7 separate regions of the Homo sapiens genome follow, and regions 1, 2, 3, 4, 5 and 6 are each linked to region 7. Evidence: promoter capture Hi-C in 16 types of primary human blood cells and fetal thymus (Javierre and others, 2016). All regions are on one chromosome and are shown on one strand. Each heading gives the region's core, a stretch centred on a gene start or on the middle of the fragment in contact. The rest is flanking DNA. Distances are from core to core; before and after follow the strand shown. Region 1 overlaps ZNF831 (zinc finger protein 831). Region 2 holds the start of PRELID3B (PRELI domain containing 3B). Region 3 overlaps BCAS1 (brain enriched myelin associated protein 1). Region 4 overlaps BCAS1-AS1 (BCAS1 antisense RNA 1). Region 5 overlaps ZNF217 (zinc finger protein 217). Region 6 has its middle 67 kb from the start of ZNF217. Region 7 holds the start of AURKA (aurora kinase A).

Evidence for each region. The method cuts DNA at HindIII sites, captures the fragments that hold promoters and counts their contacts. A CHiCAGO score of 5 or more calls a contact.
Region 1: a fragment that was not itself captured here is called in contact with the fragment with the promoter of AURKA in region 7 in 1 of 17 cell types (activated CD4 T cells); the score reaches 5.1 in activated CD4 T cells.
Region 2: a contact is called between the fragment with the promoter of PRELID3B here and the fragment with the promoter of AURKA in region 7, in 6 of 17 cell types (total CD8 T cells, naive CD4 T cells, total B cells and 3 more). The highest score is 10.0, in total CD8 T cells.
Region 3: a fragment that was not itself captured here is called in contact with the fragment with the promoter of AURKA in region 7 in 1 of 17 cell types (erythroblasts); the score reaches 6.1 in erythroblasts.
Region 4: a contact is called between a fragment that was not itself captured here and the fragment with the promoter of AURKA in region 7, in 3 of 17 cell types (erythroblasts, M0 macrophages and fetal thymus). The highest score is 10.6, in erythroblasts.
Region 5: a contact is called between a fragment that was not itself captured here and the fragment with the promoter of AURKA in region 7, in 1 of 17 cell types (M1 macrophages). The highest score is 5.2, in M1 macrophages.
Region 6: a fragment that was not itself captured here is called in contact with the fragment with the promoter of AURKA in region 7 in 1 of 17 cell types (erythroblasts); the score reaches 6.7 in erythroblasts.

What each region holds. Positions count from the first base shown.
Region 1 is chr20:59,165,805-59,168,504 of GRCh38, reverse strand. The region is part of intron 1 of ZNF831 (zinc finger protein 831); the gene reads right to left. Among named protein-coding and RNA genes, the nearest start is that of ZNF831, 3.3 kb to the right of the region's middle. The HindIII fragment of the contact is 667 bases long and covers 939-1,605 here.
Region 2 is chr20:59,041,413-59,044,112 of GRCh38, reverse strand. PRELID3B (PRELI domain containing 3B) reads left to right here and starts at 1,327. Exons shown (of 6, transcript NM_016045.3): 1 at 1,327-1,414. The coding sequence starts at 1,383. It overlaps SLMO2-ATP5E (SLMO2-ATP5E readthrough), which reads left to right and starts at 1,267. Exons shown (of 6, transcript NR_037930.1): 1 at 1,267-1,414. RefSeq lists a silencer at 1,010-1,409. The HindIII fragment of the contact is 2,130 bases long and covers 659-2,700 here.
Region 3 is chr20:54,051,556-54,054,289 of GRCh38, reverse strand. All of the region lies in intron 3 of BCAS1 (brain enriched myelin associated protein 1), which reads left to right. Among named protein-coding and RNA genes, the nearest start is that of MIR4756, 16 kb to the left of the region's middle. The HindIII fragment of the contact is 1,494 bases long and covers 584-2,077 here.
Region 4 is chr20:53,935,536-53,938,330 of GRCh38, reverse strand. BCAS1-AS1 (BCAS1 antisense RNA 1) reads right to left here. Exons shown (of 5, transcript NR_199019.1): 2 at 737-968. Among named protein-coding and RNA genes, the nearest start is that of BCAS1-AS1, 21 kb to the right of the region's middle. The HindIII fragment of the contact is 2,552 bases long and covers 1-2,531 here.
Region 5 is chr20:53,566,678-53,569,377 of GRCh38, reverse strand. It overlaps ZNF217 (zinc finger protein 217), which reads left to right. Exons shown (of 6, transcript NM_006526.3): 6 at 114-2,307. All of the region lies in intron 3 of ZNF217-AS1 (ZNF217 antisense RNA 1), which reads right to left. Among named protein-coding and RNA genes, the nearest start is that of ZNF217-AS1, 15 kb to the right of the region's middle. The HindIII fragment of the contact is 4,272 bases long and covers 1-2,700 here.
Region 6 is chr20:53,659,457-53,662,253 of GRCh38, reverse strand. No RefSeq gene overlaps it. Among named protein-coding and RNA genes, the nearest start is that of ZNF217, 67 kb to the right of the region's middle. RefSeq lists enhancers at 933-992, 1,913-1,972, 1,983-2,042. The HindIII fragment of the contact is 418 bases long and covers 1,207-1,624 here.
Region 7 is chr20:56,390,704-56,393,464 of GRCh38, reverse strand. AURKA (aurora kinase A) reads left to right here and starts at 1,250. Exons shown (of 9, transcript NM_198437.3): 1 at 1,250-1,297. It overlaps CSTF1 (cleavage stimulation factor subunit 1), which reads right to left and starts at 820. Exons shown (of 6, transcript NM_001324.3): 1 at 752-820. RefSeq lists an enhancer at 865-1,104. The HindIII fragment of the contact is 5,454 bases long and covers 983-2,761 here.

The sequences.
Region 1 (2,700 bases), core at 23-2,522, 2.8 Mb before region 7:
TGTCTACATACAAATTCTCAAAGAATCTACAAAAAAAAAAAAAAAAAAACCTCCTCGCACTAATAAGTGAGTGCAGCAAGGACACAGGATACAAGATCAACACACAAAAGTCAATTACATTTCTATATACTAGCTATGAATGGTTGAAAACCAAAATTAAATGAAAAACGAAATATGTAGTTGTAAATCTAATAAAACATGTACAAGACTTACGCACTGAAAACTACAAAACACTGATGAACTAACTCAAATAAAGTCTAAATAATAAAGAGGCATATTGTGTTCATGCATTGGAAGATTCAACATAGTAAAAATGTCAATTCTCCCTAAATTGATATACAGGTTTAATGCAATTCCTATCAAAACCCTAGTAAGATATTTTTGTGGGCATAGACAAGATTATTCTAAAATTTATATAGAAAGGCAAAAGAACTGGAATAACTCAAACAAGTTTGAAGAAAGATAATAAAGTGTAAAGAATCAGTCTACCTAACTTGATAACTTATTATATAGCCAAAGTAATCAAGACTGTATTGTCAGAATAGACACAGACATGAGTAGAACAAAATAATTAAAAAAAAAAACATAAATCAATCTGCACAAATATACCCAACTGATTTTTTTTTCTTTTGAGATGGAGTCTTGCTCTGTCACCCAGGCTGGAGTGCAGTGGCACGATCTCAGCTCAGTGCAACCTCTGCCTCCTGGGTTCAAGCAATTCTCCTGCCTCAGCCAACTGATTTTTTGACAAAGGTTGAAAGCAGTTCTGTAGAGAGAGTGTAGATGTTTCAACAAATGATGCTGAAACAATTGACTTCCGCAGGCAAAAGAAAAAAGAAAAAAAAAACCTTGACCTAAACCTCACATCTTACTTATATAGAAATTAACTCAAAATATTTAAAACAGTCTTAAATGTGAAATATAAAACTGTAAAAGCTTAGGGGAAAAAAAGCACAGGAGAAAATCTTTAGGACTTCTAAAGTGGGAAAGAGTTCCTAGACTTGAAACAAAAAGTATGAGCCATAAAAGGAAAATATAATAAAATGGACCTCATCGAAGTTAATTTTTTTTTTTTTGCTCTGTGCAAACCCCTGCTTATAATAAGAGAATAAAAAACTAGCTACAGATCTGGAGAAAGTATTCACAAACAACATATCTGACAAGGGACTTATATTTAAAATCTATACAGAACTATGAAAATTTAACAGTTAAAAAAAAACCAACAACAATCCAATTAGAAAGTGTGCAAACACATGAAGCAAGTTATCACCAAAAACGGTATACAGCCAGCAGATAAGCACACGAAAAGGTGTTCAACATCTTTAGCCACCTGGGAAATATAAATTAAAGCCACAATAAAATATCACTTCACACCTGTCAGAATGGCTAGAATAAAAAATAGTGAAACAGCAAATGCTGGCGAGGATCTGGAAACACTGCCCACGTTGCCAGGATCCATTTCGGTGTGGATGTGAAGTGGCACAGCCATTCTGGAAAAAAGGGTGGCCATTTCTTAACAAATCAAACATGGGACTATTATTCAACCCAGCAACTGCACTCCTGGGCATTTATTTCACAATGAAAACTTACGTTCACACAAAAGCTTGTACATGAATGTTTCTAAAGCTTTATTTGTAATAGTCAAAAATTGGCATCAGCCCAGATGCCCTTCAACAATGAATATTTAAACCAACTGTGGTACATCCATATCACAGAACACTACTGAGCAATAAAAAGAAGCATACCGTTGACACATGAAACATTTGGATGAATCTCTAGAGAATTATGCTGAATGAAAAAAGTCAGTCCCCAAAGGCTACACACCACACTGAATGATTCCATTCATATAACATTCTTGAAATGACAAATTATAAAACTGGAGGACAGACTAGTGATTGCTTGGGGTTAAGGGGTTGGGGGGGAGAGAGAGAGGAGGAGAGCAGGAGGGATTTGGGGTGTCCACGACGCATCCTTGCGGTGACAGAAATGTTCTGTATCTTGACTATATCACTGTCAATATTTTGATTGTGATTTGCAAGATGTTGCTATTGGAGGAAACTGGGTAAAAAACACATGGGATCTCTCTGTATTTTTTTCTTACAACTGCAGGTGAATCTGCAATGTTCTCAAAACAAAGAGGCTAATTTATGAAAGTAATAAATACGTAAATAGAATCAAAACAGGAACAACCTTCCCAGTGTGTGAGTCAATGTTATTTACTGCAGCATCCATAGTGTATCTAGAACCGACCCTAGCCACGAGTACCACAGCCTACCCTTGGAGAAACACCGACTCTGCACAGACCATTTTCCTTTCATTTTCTTTATATCAACTCACTTTTTCTTATGTACCCTTATATATTCAAAGGAAAATTGACATCACTACCATTTACCATATCTGGAAAAGCTCCAACATTGCTATGAATACAAAGTGATCATAAAGAAACTACAAGGGGCTGGGTGTGGTAGCTCACGCCTGTAATCTCAGCACTTTGGGAGGCCGAGGCAGATAGATCACCTGAGGTCAAGCGTTAGAGACCAGCCTAGCCAAAATGGCGAAACCCCTTCTCTACTAAAAATACAAAAAAATTAGCCAGTTGTGGTGGTGAGCACCTATAATCCCAGCTACTCAGGAGGCTGAGGCAGAAGAATCGCTTTAACCCAGAAGGTAGAGGTTGTAGTGAGCTGATCATGCCACTGC
Region 2 (2,700 bases), core at 78-2,577, 2.7 Mb before region 7:
AAGATTTTCCTCCATAACCTTCATTGAAAATGGCAAATTGTTCTGTTAGGAGGTAGACGGCTGTGGAGAGTGCAGGAGAGCAGGGTGGGAAGCCATATTCTGAAAGCTAAGCCAGGCAGTCTGTTCCCTGGACAAGGCTCATCTCTGAATGAAACCACATGCCACCTCCTCCTGCCCCAGCAATTCTTAGTCATTCTTTCATCCATTGATGCAACAAATAATTGTCATTTAGGAAGGGGGAAATCACTGAACAAGTCTGGCAAGAGCCTCGCCCTCAGGGGCTTACAGTCTAGCGGAAGTTACAACAAATAAACTAGATGACTCCATTAATTCATTCATCCCACAAATAGCTATTGATTTTTTTCATTTTTCAATAAGTAGTCATTGAGCCTTGACTATATGGGAGACACTGAGGATGATTTTTGAGCAAGACCGGCAAGATTCTTGCCTTCAAGAACTCAGTTCGATTGTGAATTTTCACAAATAAATTAACAAGATGATGTCAGAGGGGTAAGTGCTATAAAAAATGCAACAGGATATTGTGACGGAGCAGAGCAACAAGGTGAGAAACGGTGACGAGGGAAGTCTCTCTGGGAGAGACATCTCAGCTCAGATCCATCCTATGCACCTAGGGCAAGGTGTGCCCGGCCAGGAAGCTTTTCTACCCGACCCCTGGCACCGTGCTTCCGGACCGCATCCCTCGTAGGGGTATTATTCATGGGCAGGTCTGATGTTAGCTTCTCCGCGTCACGCCTTATTTATCCCCTCCGAGGGCTGCAAGCTCCTGGCGGGCAGGTGGGACTGGCCCAGCTGATCGGCTGGGTGGCTGGTGGATTTGGGAAAACAGCCCGGGCTGACCCAGGAGGTGGCTGGAACTCTCTATAGGGCACCAGGAAATTTTGCACAAGTGACCACCACAACGAACATCTATGTCAGCAGGCTGACCGCATGCGTCCACACGCCTCGAAATGCCAGGCGAGGATGTGCTGGGCCAGAAGGACAAGGAGGGCCAAGCGGGCGCGCAGGCACCTCCTGGACCTGACCCAACTCTGCCCAGAGGTCAAGGCTCGCTACAAGCCCGCCGCGCCTGCGCAGCACAGCGCCCGCGCCGGCCCCTCCAGCTGCCGTCGGCGGCACTGCGCCGGCGCGATGCGCCCGGCGCTAAGAGGCGGGGTTTCCTTGCGCCGCGCGCAAGGCTGGGGCAAAACCCGGGCCGGGATAGGGCGTGGGGCCGCGCGTCTGGACGTCCCTCGCGTCGGGCCCGACAGCGCCTGCGCACTGCGCCGCCGGCTGGGGTGCTGGGGGCGGGGCAGGGGCAGGTGTAGCCTCTGTGCCTCGTTGTCCCCTGGCGCTACCCGGACATCTCTCAGGGTGCCGGCACCATGAAGATCTGGACTTCGGAGCACGTCTTTGAGTAAGTTTGGGGCGCGGGTCGGCTCCGTGGAGGGCAGGCACGCCGGCCCTGGAGTAGAGGCGAGGCAGAGGCGGCCCGCAGGAGGCTTCTAGGCGTCGGGCCTAGCGAGGGGAGCGAACTCTGAAGCCTGCGGGCCCCGGCGACACGGAGGGCAGACCAAGGTCACGACCCCGAGGCGCCCTAGCCGAGGGGACGGCTCCGACCTCCAGACCCAGGCGGCCTTGCGACCGGCAGGGCTACGGGGTCACTTCCGGGCTGTCCCCCACCATGAGGTAGCCTCGGGCCGGCGGCCTCCTGAGGTCCTGGGGGCGTCGCGGAGCACGAAGCCCTTGACAGCACTCAGGGTTGCCCCATCCCGCCCTGTGAAACCACTTTGGGACGTGGACCCGAGGATCCCAAGAGGGAGGTGTTGGTTTTCTCCAGAGTGTACTTTCCCTGGCCGCCGTTTGGGTGGAGTTTCTACCTTCGAATGTGAATTTCGGGTGAACTCTGACCACCAGGATGTGAAGCCTTTTCACAACTCGTTCATCTACGCAGCAGAGCCTTGGATTTGGAATTCAAGGTCTAGCTCTGGCTGTAACAAGCGTGTGACCCTGGGTTACCCATTTTCATCTGAGAGATGGAAAAGGACGATCGTCAGGGCCTACCCGTGTTAGCTCTTTGAGGCCACGTTCAGGAACATCTTTTTGGATAATGTGAACTGTTTACTAACGAAACTAAGCCTTGAACCAGTTGGATGTGGAGAATTATATTCTCTTCTAGGTCCCTGATTCCATTTACAAAAGAGCCACAAATTTAAGCAGCGAAATCCTTTTTTTTCCCGAGTTACCTGCTCTGTTCCGCTGATCTTAATGTCGTTGCCACACTGTTTTAATTAGTATAGCCTTGTAAATAAATATGCTACAAAGCCATTTATGTTTTTAAAACTGTCTCTGAAGGCAAATTTTTTTTAAATTTCTTTTTTGAGGCAGAGTCTCGCTCTGTTGCCCAGGCTGGAGAGTAGTGGCGTGTTCTTGGCTCACTGCAACCTCCGTCTCCCGTGTTCAAACGATTCTCCTGCCTTGGCCTCCCAAGTAGCTGGGATTACAGGCGCCCACCACCGCGCCCGGCTAATTTTTGTATTTTTAGTAGAGACGGAGTTTCACCATGTTGGTCAGGTTGGTCTCAAAGTGATTCGCCCTGGTCAGGTCGCACCTGACCTCAGGTGATTCGCCCGCCTTGGCCTCCCAAAGTGCCGGGATTACAGGTGTGGGCCACTGTGCCCGGCCTCTGAAGGCAACTTTTAA
Region 3 (2,734 bases), core at 81-2,580, 2.3 Mb after region 7:
AAAATTACAATTAAAACAATTCATTGGTGATACGGTTTGGCTCTGTCCCCACCCAAATCTCATCTTGAACTGTAGCTCCCATAATCCCCACGTGTCATGGGAGGGACCCAGTAGGAGGTAATTGAATCATAGGGGCATGTTTTTCCCATGCTGTTCTCATGATAGTGAATAAGTCTCACGAGATTTGATGGTTTTATAAAAGGGAGTTCCACTGCATATGCTCTCTTGCCTGCTGCCATGTAAGACATCCCTTTGCTCTTCCTTCGTCATCTGCCATGATTGTGAGGTCTCCCCAGCCATGTGGAGCTGTAAGTCCATTAAACCTCTTTCCTTTATAAATTACCCAGTCTCAGGTATGTCTTTATTAGTAGCCTGAGAACAGACTAATACCATTGGCATCCAATAATATTTCCTATGAAGGCTTATTTAGAAGCAGCAATGGTACCATGGCTAAGCAAACAGCCAAAGAGGCTGGAATGCTACATTGAATCATGGCTCCAATATGTGAGCTTGGGCAGGTTTCTGAGCTTCTTTGTTCTGTCATCTGTAAAATGGGAATTATAATAATGATAGGACCAAAGCTTCTAAGTTATTGTACGGTTTAAATAAGTTGATACTCCTAAAACTCTCAGAACAGTGTCTGGCATGTGGTAAACACATAAGGAAAGTTATTCTGTCTTGGATTTAATGTCAATTGACATAAAGACTGCCATTGCTATTTGAAGTTAACTGTATTATTTCTGCCTAACATATCTTTTGGAACTTTAAGATCAAAAGTTAAAACTAGTCTTTCCTACATCCCTTATGCCTTGTAAGTCTTTTATTTGTCTTTCGATACAATGTGAGAGATATCAATCAGGGAAAATACCTCTTTTAAACTAAAACATGAAATTACATTCTGTATCCTCCTAGAAAGAAATGTATCGTGTAGAGTGCTTTTTCTTAGTAAGAGCAAACCACCATGGGAATTTGATATCAAACAAACATTAAGTAATACAATCCATGTGGATTGGAGATCTTTCTCAAAAGTTTGGTATTATTATTCATCTTAAGTAACAATATATTAAAAAATCAAAATGTCTCAGTTTTTGCTTATGTTATATTTCTAGCTTAACTCACCAATTTTAGATGTTATTTGAGTGTCCCGTTTTGGAGTAGGTTGCTAATGATGTTAAAACAACATACCATGTGATTTACCTGCAATGCCACTAAGACAAACACATTTGCTTGCAAACTTTGGGTGAGAGGCTTATGTGCTTGTTCTGCCAAAATGCAATTGTTTAAATTAGTATCCTCAATTTGTCTCCATCCTTTTCAAATAGTTGTTTTATTTGAACCCAAAAATATCTTGAGAATTATTAGAGCAAAATATCTATCATTAGAAGAACGGATAATCCAATTAGGGTATATCCGTACAATGGTCTCGTAATCTGTTTGTACTGCTATAACAAAATGCCATAGATCTGGTAATTTATAAAAAGTAGAAATTTTTTTCTCTTAGTTCTAGAGGCTGGGAAGTCCAGGATCAAAGCACCAGCAGGTTCAGTGTCTGGTGAGGGCCCTGTTCTCTACTTCCAAGATGGCGCCTTGCTGTGCCCACCAGAGGGGAGGAATGCTGTGTCCTCAGATGGCAGACACGACAGAAGGGCAGGAAAGGGACTAACTAGTTCCCTCAAGTCCGTTTATAAAGTCTATAATTCCATTTATGTGGTCTTTGCCCTCTAAACTCAATCACCTCCTTAAGGCCTCACCTCTTAATATGATCACATGGTAACTAAGTTTCAACATATGAATTTTGGGGGACACATTCAGGCTATAGCAGATGGTATACTCCTTAGCAATAAATAAGAAGGAACTACTGATCAATGCAACAGCATGGATGAATCTCAACATTATTATACTACGAAAAAGAAGCCAGACACAAAAGGCAACATACTACATGATTCCACTTATATAAAATTCTAGAAAGGGCACAAATGTAGTGACAGAAAGTAGATCAGTGGTTGCTAGGGGCTGGGGCTGGTTGAGACACTCACTGCAGAGGGGCATCGAGAAACTTTGCAATGATGGAGAAGCTTTATACCTTCATCATGGTGGAGGCTACATGACTGCATATTTTGTCAAAATGCACTGAATTGTGCTATTAAAGTTGGTGGATTTTATTGTATGTGAATTATACTTCAATCAGATAAATCTGATTTTTGTAAATGCTGTTAAGGTACAATGAAGTTTTTTAAAAATCAGCATAGTTGGCTGGGTGCAGTGGCTCACGCGTGTAATCCCAGCACTTTTGGAGGCCGAGACAGGTGGATCACCTGAGGTTGGGAGTTTGAGACCAGCCTGGCCAACGTGGTGAAACCCCGTCTCTACTAAAAATACAAAAATTAGCTGGGCGTGGTGACACACGTCTGTAATCCCAGCTACTCTGGAGGTTGAGGAAGGAGAATCTCTTGAACCCAGGGAGGCAGAGGTTGCAGTGAGCCAAGATCGTGCCACGGCACTCCAGCCTAGGAGACAGACAGAGACCTCATCTCAACAACAACAACAACAACAACAACAACAAACAAAAAAAAAACCAGCATAGTCAAAAGCAGCTCACATCAACTAAAGAAAAAAAATAAATTCAATAAAGAATGGGGGGAAAGATCATTTGCTATGTTAGAAGGGTGTCTTCTGCTCAACCAGTTCTTTTGCTTCCTCTGGATTCATCACTGGGGGCAGGAGGAGTCTGCAC
Region 4 (2,795 bases), core at 6-2,505, 2.5 Mb after region 7:
GACAGGCAGGCAAAAAGATAATAATAATACAATGTAAGAGAAGCAAATGCAGGGTGTCATGGGACTCAGGGGAAGGCACTGGCGCAAGACCACAGTGGGTGGAGGTTGGCCACTTTGGGGAGGTGACAGTTGAGTTAACTCACACAGAATGAATAAGCGTTGGACAAAAGGGCTCCCAGAAGAACAGCAAGTGCAAGAGCCCAGGGTCCACAGAGAGAATGGCAGGTAGCTTAGCATGGCTGAAGTGAGACTGTGAGGAGAACGGATAAGAGGATGGAAGCTGGGGAGGTGGCACAGATGGATCTCAAGGACTTGGAGTAAAAAGTCCATAGTAACGAGTTTAAATTGTCTCTTGACGGCAATGGGGAGCCATGGAAGATATTTGAGCTGGAGGGTAACATAGATTTATATTTTGGCTGCAGGTAGGATCTAATACAAAAGCAATTCAACTAATATTCACTAAGTGACCTGAGTTATCTGTGAGATATTTATTATAAGGTGTTAAACTTCTTTGAAGATTGTAAGAAAGAGATAAAACCTCTAAATGGTTTTGACCCTTCAAAGGACATTTAAATGGTTATTTCTAAGTGTCATAAACATGGACTTGGGATTTGGCCTCATCATTCACCCAGATGATTCATACCCATGATCCCAGGCTGTGAGGTCTTGAGCAAATTACTTCTTCTCAGAGCCTTAGTTTGTTCCTCTGTGGAATGGGAATGCTAACAGCACTTACCTCGGAAAGTTGCTGAGAATAAACGAGACCGTGCATTTAGAGCATGTAGGCACCGTGTCTGGCAGGTAATGAGTGCTCAGTCAGCTTATTGATGAGGATGCAGATGACCTCAGCCTGAGATAGAACAGATGTGTTCTCTTTCATGGACTGAAGGCCACCCAGACTTTGCGACATCCTTAAACTTTGCCCCAGTTTCTCCTTATCCTCATAAGCAGTTGGCTGGCTGGCTTATCTAGAAAAAAGAAAGGAGGGAGGAGAAAAAGCAAAGAAAAATGTTCATTTTCCCTGCTGTTCACCCCATTCTAAAGTAAGGCAGAATTTCTGGAGAGGGGGCTCAGGTCCACCCTTGGCTATCCTTGGTTGTACAGTTGCATCTACTTATAACGGTGGCCAAGTCGCCATGGCAGTAGGTGCTGTGGCTGCCCTGCCCCATCGTCTTCAGACTACCCGAGTTTACCTGCAGCACTGACAGCTTCCCACCCCAAAACTCCTCGTTCTTTGCTTTTCCTCTCGGTGGCTTTCTCCAGGGGCTGTAGGAGCTTGTTTAGCCCACCTGCATGGCATTTTGAAAATACCTGAAATTTTATGCCCCGAAGGACAATTCTCAATCAGTGAAAGATGGGAGAGGAAAGGTAAACACCTCAGCTGCCCCATCTCTCAGTGGGACAATGTTGAGGGGTCGTCTTTGTGTTCTCTCAAGGGTCCTCAGCAAGACCGAGCCACCCGTCACCCACAGCAGTAACATACTCATGAGCACGCCCCCCCACCCCACCTTTTGTGCTTCCTGGGATCACTTCCCAAATAAACTACTTGCACCTAAGTTTTTGTCTCAGGGTCTGTGTCTTAGGTTAAAAACCTCTGTGTCGGCCAGGCGCGGTGGCTCACGCCTGTAATCCCAGCACTTTGGGAGGCCAAGACGGGTGGATCACCTGAGGTCAGGAGTTCTAGACCAGCCTGGCCAACATGGTAAAACCCCATCTCTACTAAAAATACAAAAATTAGCCGGGTGTGGTGGCAGACGCCTGTAATCCCAGCTACTCGGGGGGCTGAGGAAGGAGAATCCCATCTCTACTAAAAATACAAAAATTAGCCGGGTGTGGTGGCAGACGCCTGTAATCCCAGCTACTCGGGGGGCTGAGGCAGGAGAATCCCTTGAACCCGGGAGGCAGAGGTTGCCATGAACCGAGATCACACCATCGCACTCCAGCCTGGGGGACAAGAGCGAGACTTTGTTCCAAAAAAAAAAAAGAAAAATCTGTGATCTGTGTCTTAGGGTTTTCTCGGGAACCTCTATCCCATGACAAGGAGCTGAATAGAAGGACATTAATATGGGTGCTAGTTTTAAAGGTACTGGAAGAGTTGAAAAGACAACCATGGGGCCGTGAGGCCCACCCGGAGATTAGAAATAGAACATGGCACATGTATACCTATGTAACTAACCTGCACATTGTGCACATGTACCCTAAAACTTAAAGTATAATTTAAAAAAAAAAAGAAAGAAAGAAATAGAAATAGGCTACAAAAAGAACCACCACTAGAGACACACAGCCAAAGGGAAGAGGTGATGCTTCTGGAGCTAGGGAACCCGGCACCCTGTGGGAAATAGAACCCCATGTGGATGGGGGTGAGGCTGCTTGAGGGTAGCTGGAACCCAATGGAGGCTTCTGCAAGCAGTACCTTTTTGTTGACTGGAGGGAGGAGGCAGGAAAAATACGTGTCAGTGCCGCCCACTGGCTGAACTTAACCAGAAGCCAGTTGGTAATGGAACCTGGGAAATGCAGTTTGAAGAGAAGCTTGGAAAAATGATCTGAGAGTAAACATACAAATACCTAGCACAGTTGGTGGCTTTAAGAGGAGAAAAAAGGGAAGGGAAGGGGAGGGGAGGGGAGGAGAAGGGAGGGGAGGGAAGGGAAGGGAAGGGAAGGGAAGGGAAGTGAAGGGAAGGGGCAACCTTGATTAGTGTCCCACCCCCTTCCCTGGCTCTAAATAAATGAACATGTATGCTATGGTCATGCTGACATCCTTGTCTCCTCCTTTATCTTCAGAAGAGAGCAGTAGC
Region 5 (2,700 bases), core at 34-2,533, 2.8 Mb after region 7:
CATTGCATTTCTAGGTCAGTTTGGTTCTATGTATTACGCTTTTTTAAAGAAAGAATTTTCTAAACTGTATTCAGTTTTGATCTTAATCATTTAAAAAATGTTGTTTTCCTTAGGTCTTGGTGGATGTCAGTGCTTACTCCCCATGAAATTAAATTTTACTTCATCCTTTGAGAAGCGAATGGTGAAAGCTACTGAAATAAGCTGTGATTGTACTGTACATAAAACATATGAGGAATCTGCAAGGAACACTACAGTTGTGTAAAGTTGTTCTGTTAACTTTTGTACCAAATAGCAATACAAACTAGTTGGAACAGTTGGAACTTACATACATGGGGACTGGAAATCTCTATTTTGTCCCTGAATAATATTTTTCTTAGAATTGACCAAATAAGAAGTGGAATTTTTGCATACTTGAGCGCTGCTGAAAAGAAATCATTTGGGTTGGGTGGGGCGGGATGGGGGAAAAGTATATAATGCTTGCACCTCAGGTAAAAATCTGTAAATATCTAAGTTGTAAACCTGCTTGTTCAAATACTGTGTGTATTCCTTTTCTCTAATGCAGCTCATCACTTGGAGCAGTTTCTGCTATTGTGCTCTTTCATTTAAAATGTATGTTTTTTTTTTTTTAAACTGTCAATGATTTTGTATTATGTTGAATCCACCCAAATCTATTGTTGTCTTAAAATTGTTAATGGAAGTATTGACCCTCTATGATATGTGCTGCAGATATCGAGGTCAGCCATTCGGAAGCTGGCAGCATTTTATCGCAACTTTGAGCATCTCAGATGGGGAAGGCACCTTCTTCCTCGCCTCTCCAGATTGTCCTGGAACCTCCAGGATCCTTGACTGAGGGCGTTGGGATGGCTTGTAGGATTTTTAAGAGAGTGTGTCTACAGACAAGCATTTTCTCTGTAGAGCAGCCACACGTTGTATAAACATAAACTGTATGTGCAGTTATTTAAATTTGTTTCTGTCAAATTAATCATTTTTGTTGGACGATTCAGTGGCGGGGGGGTTTTGCCTAAATTAGTATATAAAAACAAAAATGCTAAATTATATCTGTGAATTGCAGGTATTGGGGAACAGTTTTAAGGGAAATTTTGGGGGGAACATTTTAGGTTTGTATTTGGTAGTCTTAATGTATCTGGCATTTGGGTGAACTGTGGACATACTAGAGTTGATTATAGACACATTGATTTTGAATAAGGAACTGCTGGCCGAGCCCGCTGGGAGTCTAGAAAGAGAAAATCTGTTTCTAGACCTCAGTTATTTTCCCATTTTTGGTTGTTTTGAAGCAGTAACATTTTTCTCAGTGCACATGCAATTTGGGTTTTAGAGAAGATGGCCACCAGCTGGCTTCCTAGATATTTTAAACTTTTGTTCTTTAATATGCTGTCCATGGCTGAGTTTATTAGTACATGGGCTTAGTGACCACAAAATATTTTATTAAGAAACTGTTTCAAAAATAAATTTGCACTGTTCATTTTTCTGGCCTCGCTGTTCTCCATAGAGCAAGGGTAATCCTAGAAAAAATTTTTTTTTTTTAAATTATGCAACGTAAGATGTCCTCCTTGATAGAAGTCTTAGCTCCTGTGTTACAAGGGAGAACTCATTTGAGATCAGTCTGTTGGCATTGCAATGAAGTGCTTTGTATCAGGAAAGTGTACACTATTGACCTTTTTTCCTGTTCACAAGCTGAGCCATATGTACATAATCTAGATTTTGTTTTCATAGTTTTGCACTTTTATAGCCTATTTTTGAAGATTAACACATTTGCAAGATGATTGACTCAATCTTTGCCTAATCCAATGAGTGTTACAGAGAGCTTGCTGTGACTAGAACCATAAATCTTAAAGGGGGTATGTGATAATAGAGGGCTGGAATTTAAACCTGTATTTAAAAAAAAGAATCACCAAATCTATTTGAAAACAAGTCGATTTGTATTATGCTGGAATTTTTTGGGCTTTCAGATTTCTCTTTTTAACCACATTTCTGAATGTATAAAAATACCAATTATTTTCCTACAGCCCTTTGTACTTCAAAATATGTTTTTGTGTCCATCAGTATTAACTATTGGTATACTACTGGTTTTATATTTTTTTTTCTTTGAGACAACAGTACATATAATAGAGGTACAATTCGTTGGATTTTTGTTTATGTATTTATTTCATTCCAGTTTGATTTATTTTAATTGTTGATACTTAAGTTGTCGAACAGTAGACATTACTTGTTTTATTTATGATATATTTCAGCTTAAAGTTATGTTATTATATGTGGAAGTGTAAATATAGATTTGGTGTTTTGCAATCTTGAGTTTTAGTGTTTATTGTGTTTCTGGTTTCTGATTTTGTTTTATTTAACTTTTTAGTTTTCTTTCTTTTTTTTTTTTTTGAGATGTGCTCCTGCTCTGTCACTCAGGCTGGAGTGCAGTGGTGCAATCACAGCTCACTGCAGCCTTGAACCCCTGGGCTCAACTGATCCTCCAGCTCTCGGCCTCCCGAGTATCGAGCCATCATGCCTGGCTTATAAACACAATTTTAAGGCCAGCACGTGGCTCACGCCTGTAATCCCAGCCCTTTGGAAGGCCAAGGCGGGTGGATCACTTGAAACCAAGAGTTTGAGACCAGCCTGGCCAACATGGCGAAACCCCGTCTTTACTAAAAATACAAAAATTAGCTGAGTGTGGTGGTGCACACCTGT
Region 6 (2,797 bases), core at 166-2,665, 2.7 Mb after region 7:
GCTGGGCACAGTGGTGCGTGCCTGTAATCCCAGCTACTCGGGAGGCTGAGGCAGGAGAATTGCTTGAACCCAGGAGGTGGAGGTTGCGGTGAGCAGAGATCGTGCCATTGCACTCCAGCCTGGGCAACAAGAGCGAAACTCCATCCCAAAAAAAAAAAAAAAAGAAAAAGAAAAGAAAAAAAAGAAATAGCACAGGGAATACTGACCACATTTCTGCCTTTGTTCAGTTCAGATTGACAAATATTTGTTGAGCTCCGACAAGCAGGGAGAGGGACAAGGTGAACCAGCCCTTTCCTGCCCCTAAAGAGCAGCATAGCCACCAAGTAAACACATCATTTCAATATACTGTGGTAGCCCCTGGATAGAGGGAACTAAAAGTTGCTACAAAAACATGAATGCTATCTAGAAACTCCTGCATTTTCTCTTGAAGCATGTGAAGGAGTTCATCTGAAAAAGATGCCAAAAAGCCAAGAATCCAGCATCTACATCATCTTAGGAGGGAGCAGGGATAGGTAGGGAGGAGCCACCAGCTCTCGGATATTCCCAGATGCTAAAAGGTAAAGTGAATTCTTCTATAAGGATGTGTCTATCTAGCTGAGTCTGCAAAGCCTCCCCACAGTAAATCTGAAGTTGAGAATGCCAAAGTATTTGCTTTCATCTAACTCTTTGACAGACAAATAGAATACAAAAATAAAAACATCTCTCTTCTACCCTCATTGTAATCTTTTTCCTCTTTTCAAAATCTTTTAAACAAAATGCCTCTTTACTGTGAAATCTGTTCTATTGATTTGTTTTCATAAAAGATCTCTCTCCTAAAGAAAGGAAAAGCCATCTTTGATCTGACTTGACAAAAAGATCTAATCAAACAATAAAATCTATGAAGGAAAAAAAAGAAAAAGAAGCAAGCTTCTTTGAGCCACATCAAATATATGAAAGAGAAAATACTTCATTTAAATGCTAAAAACTAACACAAAACAGCTTGAAATGTAATAACCTCTCCTGAATAAGTGAAACCACATGTTGATCTGACATGAGTTTCTAAGACACAATTAAAGGTCACTTCGTGTACAAACATCTCATTCGGAAGTGAGAAGCTTGAATTGCTGTCAGTATTTTTGGCCACCACGGGGCAGGTGCTCCCACCTGGCACAAACCATATAGACGCCCCCAGAGGGAATGAAGGTGATACTCCACATACTGGAAGCTTCAAATCTAGCCGCGCCAGGAAATGTTCAGCCCTGGATTTCAGCTGTTTCTCCCTTGATGTCCTAACAGAGAGGACTAACTAAATGTGAGAATCCTTGTTGTTTTAGGAAGCCCATGGAAGTGGCTTTACTTAAAAAACTAAAGGCTTCCTTTCTGCTCTGTCTGTCTTTATGACCCACCAGGGTCCTAGGAGAGAAGACATTAGGGTGTTGCAGCCACAGAGTCACATTTGGAAACGTCTTCCAGCAGCTGGGATGTTTCAATTCAAGACTCTTTAAGGGAACACAGGGTATTTGGAAAGTGACTTTAAAATGCCCTGGCCTCCAGGCCTATCTCCTCTTACCAAATCCCTTTAAGAAAGGATGTGCTGGGGAAAGACTTCAAAGTGTTTCAAAAGGGAAATCACATCTTGAAAGCTTTTCTCAGAATGAGAAAGAAACACATTATTTGATTTGAAAGAGAAGTAAATCTTAAGCAGCAATGAAGGAGGATCAAAGAATAGGTTCATGTGAACTTAAGAAGTGATCCTTTCCAGCGGAACGTGACTTTACTCTTTCCGATGCCCTCAACGCATTTTGGGGATTGTAAGTTTACTCGAGAATCAAAATAAAGAGGCGAGCCAGCGTTCCAGAAAATCACGTGGTCTCCCCCGCCCCCCAATCTATTTTACAGCCCTCTCCAGCTTCGAACTCGCGCCAGGCTGTGCGCACCGACTTTGCGCTGGCGGCGTGGACGCTGCGGCCACTCGCGGGCGGCGTGGACGCTGCGGCCACTCGCGCGGCTGTTGTTGTTGCTGCTGCGTGGAGGCACGCCGCTCCTTGCACACGCGGGGCAATTCTCCGGTTGGGGAAGGAGGAAAATGGCTGAGAAAAGGACCTAAGAAAGCCTTCAGGGTGGGCCCCCATTTCTTCCTGCCCCGCCCACACCCTGCCACACTCTCCCGCCGTCCCCTCCCCACCCCCCCTTGTTCTTTGGACCTGACCGATGAAAAATTCAACTAATACCTAAATAGATTCTTCTTGCAAAAAAGTAAAATCTCAAAGCAAAACAAAACAAAACAAAAATTTGTTAGGGGAGAAATCATCTGTGAGGTGCCCTTTCCATTCTAGCTCCCTCTCCCCTCTCCGTTTCCCTAAATGTTATTCTCTATCGATAGACATAGAGATGTGGATATTACCTGTAGATAGATATTTTAAAATTGTATTTATTTCTTAAAGACACTTCCATAATCTAATATACAAAGGAATTCATAAACTTAAGAGCGGAAGTTGTCACATAAATAAAAAACAACCAATACTTTTTGATCAGTAAAATCACTGATTCGGCTGGGCGCGGTGGCTCACGCCTGTAATCCCAGCACTTTGGGAGGCCAAGGCGGGCCGATTATGAGGTCAGGAGATGGAGACCATCCTGGCTAACAGGGTGAAACAAACCCCGTCTAAACTAAAAATACAAAAAATTAGCCGGGCGGGGCGCCTGTAGTCCCAGCTACTCGGCAAGCTGAGGCAGGAGAATGGCGTGAACCCGGGAGGCGGAGCTTGCAGTGAGCCGAGATTGCGCCACTGTACCCCAGTCTGGGCGACGGGGTCTC
Region 7 (2,761 bases), core at 1-2,500:
AAATCACAAGTGGGTAGTCTGGCAAAGAAAAGTTGATGAGAGATTCTACTGTTAACGTTGGGTTAATATGACTCGAATAATTTCCGTATGCTAGCTCAATGCTTTACATGCACATCCTGTTTACCCTGCAGTAATCTGTTAATTCGTCTTATGTGAATTTAACTCTTAGTCCTAATAAGGTACCTGGAAGGATGGAGGGAAGCCATTTTTGGTTCCCCTACACCACTGTTCTATCCGGTCTCTTCACTTCTGCTGAGCACATCCCGGGTGTACATACACACACACACACACACATATGTGTGTGTATATATATGTATATGTGTGTGTGTGTGTATATATATATATATTTTAAGTGGCCCACCCCTAACTTCTCAACTCCCACAGAACGTTCACTCGCCAGGTAAACAGAAGCCTAATTATCCCCAATTTGCAGGTGAGCACACGAGGACAAGAACCCGATCCAGGACCGGATACATCGCAGTTGGAAAGGCTAGAACACAGATGCCCCCTCACTATATGCGCCGCGACCATCTGGATGCAGAGGCGAACTAAGGACTGGGTGGGAATGGAAGCGAGGCCCTTCGAGAAGAGGAAGGGGTGCAGGCCAAGCCGGGCAACTTAGGAAACGCAAAGTAGAGGCGCATGCCACCTTGCTAACTCTCGACTCTTCCAGTCTCGCCCCAGTCGTTTCTGTGGTTTTCTCTAAATGCCCCAGCCGACCGCACCAGCTACTCTCCCCGTGTCCCAGTACCAGCTGGTCCGGTTCTCTTGGTATCCCGCTCTCTCCTGGAAAAATGGAGGCGCGAATCCTGCCCAATCTACCGCTCCGAGCGCACGTTCACTGCGCACGCTGAAAGGGCGCCAAGCCGACCGCTGCGCTATCGATCGGTCCCACTCTCTCTTGCTTTTCTCGCCATCTTACTTACTGGCACGTTCAAAGGTTAGTTCACCTCCTTGGACTTTATCTCCAATGCGTCAAGCTTGACGTCAAGGGGCTGTTGCTTCACCGATAAATGGCCGACCGCGGAGAGCACCCTGGGGCTGGGACTGCCACAGGTCTGGCTGGCCGTTGGCTCCACCACTTCCGGGTTCTTAGGGAGCAAGTGCGCCTGCGCGCGGTGTGCGCCCTTAAACGCGACTCAAGGCGTCGGGTTTGTTGTCAACCAATCACAAGGCAGCCTCGCTCGAGCGCAGGCCAATCGGCTTTCTAGCTAGAGGGTTTAACTCCTATTTAAAAAGAAGAACCTTTGAATTCTAACGGCTGAGCTCTTGGAAGACTTGGGTCCTTGGGTCGCAGGTGGGAGCCGACGGGTGGGTAGACCGTGGGGGATATCTCAGTGGCGGACGAGGACGGCGGGGACAAGGGGCGGCTGGTCGGAGTGGCGGAGCGTCAAGTCCCCTGTCGGTTCCTCCGTCCCTGAGTGTCCTTGGCGCTGCCTTGTGCCCGCCCAGCGCCTTTGCATCCGCTCCTGGGCACCGAGGCGCCCTGTAGGATACTGCTTGTTACTTATTACAGCTAGAGGTACAAGGGGTTTGTTGAGTGGTGTTGACATGCGCGGGAGGGGTGGGTGGGCTTCAGATTGGATTTTGTCCTCCGAGATCACCTGGGTAAGAAAAGCACAGAAGGTCTCTGCTGTGTTGGAGTTCACGTTCTAGTGGGTGGGGAGACAGACGGTAAGCGTACGGAGAACTTGCAGCTGGGGTGGGTGTTACAGAGGAAAAGCAGGAGTGCGGTTTAACGGGGGCCGCTTTAGATAGAATAGCCTAAGAAGGCCCTTGTCCTGGCTGGATGAGTGGGTGAATTGATGAATGAGAACCTCCTTGCAGAGGCCTTCCCGGTCCGTACTTCTCAGACCGTAGACCTTGGAGCAGTTGTACCGGGATAACTTGCAGTGCTTGTTAAACATATAGCTCCACCGAGAGCCCGGTAAATCAGAATCTCTGAGGGGTAGGACCCAGGTGTCTAGTTATTAACAAACTCTCCAGATGATTCTTAGGTTTCATTGAGAACTAGGGATGCAGACCGGTGCATACAAATCGTCTGGGGACGTTAAAATGCAGAATCTGTTTTTTTAGACCTGGGGTTAGGCCTCAGAGTCTCCATTTCTAAGAACCATCCGGCTGAGGTAGACGTAGCCACTGTCCTTAACTCTCGTAATGTCTCTTCCTCTTCCGTAACCTTCCTTGTCCCTTGAATTAAACGTTTTTCAGCAACCTACTCAGTTCGTCCTTCCCTTCATCTCTGCAGACATGCACAGGTCTGAGGGAGGAAGGAATAAACCGTATAAACCTCCTGCGCTATTAGCCTAACAGCTTTTCTATTCAAAATAGTAGGACTTCTGGTTTGAACTGAATGGATCCTGTGAAAGTCATCTGGTTCTTCAATCTGGTTGCAGATTAGAGTCACCTGAAGGGCAGTCTCCTTGGCGTTGTCTCCAGAATTCTGGATTAGAATCTTATTCCATTCTGCTTGTTATTCAATTTCCCTAGAAAGAAAGGTAGAATAAATTGGAGCAAATGCCTGTAGCTTCTGTCAGAAGAATGTTGAATAAATGTTGTTAGGCCTATGTGATCTCATTAGACTGCTACTTAGAATTGTAAGGGAAGTAAAGCATTAGAGCATGTGTGAAATTAAATATTTGATTAACACAAGTGTGCATTTCCTTGTTGCTGTTTATCAACTTTTACTTACCCACTGTTTTTTTATAAGGGCTGCAGCCTGTAGTCTGGGCCTGGCTTCATCATGGAATTATTTGCTTAA